Linked DNA regions of Homo sapiens: region 1 is linked to region 2. The links are contacts of gene promoters, found by promoter capture Hi-C in blood cells and fetal thymus (Javierre and others, 2016). All regions are on one chromosome and are shown on one strand. The core of a region is centred on a gene start or on the middle of the fragment in contact, and the rest is flanking DNA. Distances in the headings are between cores, read along the strand shown.

Region 1 (3,855 bases), core at 90-2,589, 270 kb before region 2:
GGACTGCTTAGGGCTTCTTTAACCCTGGAACTGTGCTAAAGGTGCCTTACTGTAGCTGGGAGGTGGCATCCACTAGTGGGGCTGCCAATCAAAGGGCCTTGCCTCCCCCATTGCAAAAGTAGGTGTATGTGCAGGCTGACCAATTAGGACAACCTGTTTCCAGGTGACGGTGATGGGTCTGGAGGTGGGCACATGACTCAAGCAGGGCCAAGCAGAGTCCTTGTCTGTAGAGGGTTAGGAATGGCAAAAGTCTTTCTCTTCCTGAGATCATGAACTGTAAACATTATGCATACTTGTTGTGTCCAGAATTGTCTTTCCCTTCACGTGGTAAGAGCTTGCTGGAGAAAGAAGCCAATTCAGAGAGAAGTGAGTTGAGAGACAGAAACAGAGTCCACCTGATTCATGATTACATTGATGGAAAAAAAAAGACTCAGGGATCTGTTTTCTTTTAATTTTTTTATTATTTATTTATTGAGACGGAGTCTCACTTCCCCAGGCTGGAGTGCAGCAGCTGGATCTCGGCTCACTGCAAGCTCCACCTCCCGGGTTCACGCCATTCTCTTGCCTCAGCCCCCCGAGTAGCTGGGATTACAGGCACCCGCCAACACGCCCAGCTAATGTTTGATATTTTTAGTAGAGACGAGGTTTCACCGTGTTAGCCAGGATGGTCTCGATCTCCTGACCTCGTGATCCGTCTGCCTTGGCCTCCCAAAGTGCTGGGAGTACAGGCGTGAGCCACCGCGCCCAGCCTTTATTTTTTATTTTTAGAAGTCTTGGACCAATGGTGCACGGAGCTGAGTAAATCATACTCCTCAGTTCTTGACATACATCACTACTTGGTGTGTAAAAGACAACATTCACTTAAAAAATTACTGTTCTTCATCCAGCATTCCCTCTCTCATTCTCCTGTTACTACAGGCACCACTTAAATGTGTTTATGTATTTTTCAAAGATACATACATACCCAATAACATATATTGGCATCGTTTTGTGTATATATGTGTTTTTAATATAAATTTAAATTAAAAAGGTAATACAAATGGCATTATATTATAGATTTCACTAAGATTCTTTTTTTTTGTTTTTAACCCAGTACTGTGTTTTAAAGTTCTCACCACACTACTGTATATAACCCATTGGCCCAACTGTGGCTAGAGCTCCTAGGTTCAGTAAAGCTCCGACTACCATGAACAATGCTGTCATTGACATCTTCATGCAGGTCTAGGGATATATGCAGAAATGGAATTGCTAACACTAACTTCAGGACATTTTAATTACTGCATAATTAATGCATTCTCTTTTTGCATAAGCCATTGTTAATGAGTTTATGTGACTTTTACCCAAAGGATGCCTGGTTAATCCTTGCCTGTTGAAGGTGAAGGGTACCATGTCCTATCTGCTGGCCACCTCTAACTTTCTTAGGAGAGGCCAAAAATAAAGTAGCCTTTTTCCATGTCCCTTCAGCACTCCCAGCCATGCTTTTATTTACTTATTTATTTTTTAGAGACAAGGTCTTGCTTTGTCACCCAGGGAGGAGTGCAGTGATGTGATTCTAGTTCACTGCAGTCTCTAACTCCTGGGCTGAAGGCATCCTATTGCCTCAGGCTCTCAAGTAGCTGGGACTACAGGCAGGTATGACCATGCCTGGATAATTAAAAAATTTTTTTTTCCTGTAGAGACAGGGTCTTGCTACGTTGCCAAGGGTACTCTTAAACTCCTGGCCTGAAGCAATCCTCCTGCCTCAGCCTCCTGAAGTGCTGAGATTAAAGATGTGAGCCACCATGCCCGGCACACCCATGCTTTTACACTCAATAATTGGTGCCTCCTTTGGAAAAAGTCTCAATACTTCTGTTTCACGTGATGGATAATACGCATCTATAGGTGTTGTTTTATTGAAAAAGTGTTTTAATTTTTAAAAATCCATGTTAAATGTTCAGAACATAGAAAAATATTTTCAAACTTTGGAATTGCAATTATGTTTGCAGCAGAGATATCTATTAATGCTAAAAATACTTTACTAGATCAATCATCTTAATAATAAAATCTTATTAAAACAGTCTTTTCTCACCACAGGAATGCTAGTTATGAGACTTTGGTTAGGGAGATTTCCTTCTGCAATCCATAGATCTTTCTCCAAGTGTTTTTTGTTTACTGAACATTTTGAGATTTCTCAGAAGTCTTCCTGTGAGACACTGCTACAGAAACCCCCTTTCCATACACAAAGGTCAGCTGAAGTAGCTGAAGGATAATGAAATAGTCCTCTGTTCCTTGATTATGAGCTGATAGCAATCATATGAAGTTCAACAGAGATGAAGTCAATGCACATAAATATAAAAGTATTCATTGATGTTAACCCTAACATTAAACAGGTTCAGGAAGGGGTAGGCCTGGTTTGATAGCAGCTCATGTGAAAAAGACACAGAGGCAATGCATGTGTGGGGATAGGGGGAATATGGGAAATCTTTGTACCTTTCAGTCAATTTTGCTGTGAACCTGAAGCTGTTCTAAAATGTAGTCTATTAAAAAAGGAAAAAAAGGAGAGATATTAATTGACCTTAACTTAATATATAGCAACAGTCTGTAAAGGCTGTTAGATGCACCAATGCAATGTAATGGAAGTGTTATCCTGTGCTCAGCCTGGGGGCCAGGGAAAAGAATCACTCTCTTCTCCTTTCTAGTTTTACCATTTCTGGGGTGTTATTCTGAGAACCAAGCTTAAAAGAGACAAAGACAAGTGAGAGGCTTGTAGATTAGGACAATTAGCATGGAAAATAAATTTAGAAACTATAATGCCAGGAAAGACCAAGGGAATACCAGCTGCCTTCAAATACTTGGAGGACTTAGGTGTGAATAATGGCAACATTTTAACTTAGGTAGCATCTCACAATTTCCAAAGCGCCTTTATTTTTATTATTTAATTTGATGCTTATATTGGCTTTGTGAGGTAGACCTTTATAAAACGGTAAGCTGTTTTATAAAGGAGGAAACTCAAGCTCAAAGAGATTAACTTCATTTTGCTCTAAGTAGGATGGTGGTTAAGTGGAGATGTTGGGACAAGAATGCAGGCCTCTTGAATTATATTTAGTGTTCTTTCAATGACATAAGACATCCTGTGCTTTTGTAGAAAGTGAACTAAGGGCCAATGGTAGTGAAGCAGAAGGCAGTGAATTCAATATAAAAATTTTTCAAAAACACTGGCAAGAACTTTCCGATAATGGAAGGGCCAGCCCCCCAAAGTTGTCAACTTTTCCAGTGGAAATTAGATAATCGTCCTTCAGGGATATTGTAGCAAAGATTCCAGTATGGAAAGACACTGGACAATCTTACTGGTTTCCATAACTGTTATTTTATTTGTATTAGACTGAGAAAGAAACAAACATATAAATATGCTGGCAACCTGCTGTGTTTTCATTAATCAGTTTGCTAACTAGGGCTGAAATCTGAAAACAAAATTCCATTTGAAAAATATTATTCAGGCTGGGTGGCAGATGAATGACTCATTGATATGTTTTTGTCAATCTTAATTCTGTTTACTTACTGGTCATAGTACATTGGTGTTGATTTCTCTTATACTTCAGCCATGTCTCTTAATACCAGTTACACTGAGAGACAAAGAACAAGAGAATAATTACGAAAAATCAGACTTTGGGAACTGAGCTGTCTGGGTTGAGGTCACCTCAAAAGCTCACGAAGTCTGATGTTTGTGCAGCCTCAAGTATATTTTTTACTGTGTGTCTGAAGCTCATGACACGATCAAGGTTAGTAACTATGGAGACTGGTGTGATTTATTTACCACTGAGGAGGTTTAGCACTGACAGAATCAGAACAGGCTTCCTCATGCAAACGGAGTGCCTG
Region 2 (3,498 bases), core at 487-2,986:
TAGCCCATGTTATTCTTCTTGTCTGAATATCCACCCTTTTCTCTGTTCTCAATAATAAGTTCAGGCTTTTCGTCTTCTGAGAAGCCCTTTCTGACTTCCACAGGCTGAACCACTGGCTTCTGCTCCTCTACATAATACTTCAATTCCAGCATTGATCTCACTCTATCATGATCATGGGTTTAGCTGTCTGTCCCTGCCACTGCTGTGTGTTCCTCTTGAGGGCAGGAACATTTGTTTTTCACTTTTTAAAAAACCTCTGTTGCCCAGTCTGGCATTAGGAAGTGCCCATTAGGTTGTTATTGCTTGTTGGCGCTTGAGCTGGGGCTTGAAGGTTTCTATAATGTGTAGCAGTGTATAGAAAACAGGCAGGTCAGAAAAGGCTTCTGTGCATCACACCAACATGGCACATGTATACATATGTAACAAATCTGCATGTTGTGCACATGTACCCTAAAACTTAAAGTATAATAATAATAAAATTTTAAAAAAAAAAAGAAGAGGCTTCCTGGAGGAGATGACAGCTGAGCTAAGTCCTGGAGGATGAGAAGGAGTATAAAATAAGATAATAGGAGAAAAAAGGCAGTAGGAACAGCATGGGTAAAGGTGATGAGGCCTGAAAGAGGCACGTGGAAGGAAAGACAAATGCAGGAAGGGGGAATGGGAGGGAATGCTGGGGTACAGGCCAAAGAGGGAGGCATTTGGTGAGTATTCTGCAGAGTCTCCTCTGCTGTGCTGAGGTGTGGACAATGGGAAACCATGGACGGACTGGAGTAGGCAAATGTCATATTCCCTGTTACAACTGTCTGTTTGCATGTCAGCCTTCTAGAAGCCCCTTAAGGTATCAACTATGTTTTTGTTTTGTCATCATTCAATCCTAAGTGCACAGAATTCCGGGCATATTACAGGTTCCCCATGAATGTTTCTTTCTTTATTAAAATGTATGAAAACTCTCCAGATTTAAGGAAGGTCCTCAATGTTTCAAATTCTTTTTGTTAGATCATTGGTCCTGTCTACAGCTGTCACAAATTTAAGGACTCTGGTTATATTTAATCTTCACTTTTGAATTTTCTGCTTGAAAAATTTGTATTAGAAAAAAAAGTCTATCCTTTTATGGACGGCTCTAATCTCTTGAATCATTTGGGTTGGCTTTTCTTTGGACCTTCTTCAACTCTGTTTTGTCTCTGTTGAGTTAAGGCTTTTAAGAACACCTGAATTCTTTCCTTCTGCAAAACCAGAGGCAGCTTCTTTTCCGCCTATTTTCAGTTTATTTCTTGTGATTTTAGTTTTTTTCTCTTAACCAAATGCTAAATGGATTTAGGAGAAATAAACTTATTTGTAAAGCTGTCAAGGGACCATTAGAAGGATGGTGCTTCACAGATAGAATACAGTTTTTATTAATGATGCCTAGACAAATCCTGCCATTAGCCCAAGGGCTCAGAAAGTTAGCAGCCTAGTAGTTTTGGAGTTGTCAATGAAATGAATTGGACTGGATGGTTAAGGATGCCCAGAAGATTGAATAAAATTGGGATTTAGGAGGACCCTTGTACTCCAGGAAATTCTCCAAGTCTCCACTTAGTTATCCAGATCCTCAAAGTGAACATGAAGCTTCAGTTTCAAATTGAATACATTTTCCATCCATGGATTGGCTTGTTTTGTTCAGTTGAGTGCTTGAGGTTGTCTTTTCGACGTAACAGCTAAACCCACGGCTTCCTTTCTCGTAAAACCAAAACAAAAAGGCTTTCTATTCAAGTGCCTTCTGTGTGTGCACATGTGTAATACATATCTGGGATCAAAGCTATCTATATAAAGTCCTTGATTCTGTGTGGGTTCAAACACATTTCAAAGCTTCAGGATCCTGAAAGGTTTTGCTCTACTTCCTGAAGACCTGAACACCGCTCCCATAAAGCCATGGCTTGCCTTGGATTTCAGCGGCACAAGGCTCAGCTGAACCTGGCTACCAGGACCTGGCCCTGCACTCTCCTGTTTTTTCTTCTCTTCATCCCTGTCTTCTGCAAAGGTGAGTGAGACTTTTGGAGCATGAAGATGGAGGAGGTGTTTCTCCTACCTGGGTTTCATTTGTTTCAGCAGTCAAAGGCAGTGATTTATAGCAAAGCCAGAAGTTAAAGGTAAAACTCCAATCTGGCTTGGCTGGCTCTGTATTCCAGGGCCAGCAGGGAGCAGTTGGGCGGCAGCAAATAAGGCAAAGAGATAGCTCAGAACAGAGCGCCAGGTATTTAGTAGGGGCTTCATGAATGCATGTGAGTTGGTTTAGTAGAGAGACACAGGCAATTTCAGACCCTTCTATGAGACTGGAAGTGATTTAAGAGGGAAAGGATAGCCATAGTCCTGAATACATTTGAGCTGGGTTTCAGGATGAGCTCACAAGTTCCTTTAAAAAAAATTGACTTAAGCAAATCCTGGGAAGAGTTTTTTTGCTATACAATTCAAGGTTTTAAGGTCCTCGGATTCATATACTTTATAAATGAATTAGCCAGCTTGTTTAAAATGTAGGGAAATTGTGGGAAGAATGCCTTCTTTACTTAATTCAAGGTTTTAAGGTTCTCTTAATCAATTCTACTAGCTAATTAGCCAATTATTTAAAAATAAAAGTTTGAAATTGCCAAAAAAAAAAGACAAGGAAAAGGAAAGAAAGAAAGCCACCAGTCTGTTTGGCATACAATACTTAATTGTTGCCTGACCTACGTGTGGGTTTCAGATGCAGATCCTCAGTTTTCAGCTCTTCAGAGACTGACACCAGGTTTGTTACACGGCTTAAAATGATGAGTATATCCATTGAATCTCAACCTTATCTCTCTCTAGACCTTCTTGGTTAAGAAACCATGTAGTTTGTATGAAGTAGGTACTCAAAAGATATTTGATGATTTAATTTTTACTGGAGAAGAAATATTCATATATGTTTTCTTATTTTTACATGTTTTAAATATGTAAAGATTAAATAAACACTCTTAGAAGTATTTAAATTTCCTAAAGTAAATTTATCTCAACCAGTAACAGGACCCTCCCAATACTGGAAAGTTGAGTGTGACCGCATTTAGTGGTGATGAGTGTGAGCTTGCTTGGGGAGAGGGCAGGACATTTAGGATTTCTTAAGCTTAGAGTCAATACAATAAAGATTATTGAGTGCTCACTTGGGTGGGCTATAATCACTGCTCACAGGAGTTCATGAACCACAAGTAAAAGAGTGAGGAGATATGATTAGCTCACAAATAACTTTAATACAGAGCAGAAAGTAATGAACTACTGCAATGGAGTTATCACAGTGCTAAGGATGCTCAGAGGGCATCTCTGATAGGCAGAGGTGAGGGTTAGGGAAGGAAGCTGTAGTCTAGCTAGCTAGAGCTGCTGGAATAGACATGACAATGGCTGCTGCCAAACTGTTTTCTCTTCTGAGGACAGATGTCCCGTGCAAGTGGCTTGGTGGAAGGGACTAGTGTCTCTAATATAGGGTGATTTATAAGCAGGAAAGTGTGTCCTAGA

What was found. Contacts are between HindIII fragments. The CHiCAGO score rates a contact against its expected background, and 5 or more counts as called.
Region 1: a fragment that was not itself captured here is called in contact with the fragment with the promoter of CTLA4 in region 2 in 1 of 17 cell types (monocytes); the score reaches 6.1 in monocytes.

The regions. Positions count from the first base shown.
Region 1 is chr2:203,592,613-203,596,467 of GRCh38, forward strand. No RefSeq gene overlaps it. Among named protein-coding and RNA genes, the nearest start is that of RAPH1, 59 kb to the left of the region's middle. The HindIII fragment of the contact is 2,745 bases long and covers 1-2,712 here.
Region 2 is chr2:203,866,035-203,869,532 of GRCh38, forward strand. CTLA4 (cytotoxic T-lymphocyte associated protein 4) reads left to right here and starts at 1,737. Exons shown (of 4, transcript NM_005214.5): 1 at 1,737-2,017. The coding sequence starts at 1,909. The HindIII fragment of the contact is 240 bases long and covers 1,604-1,843 here.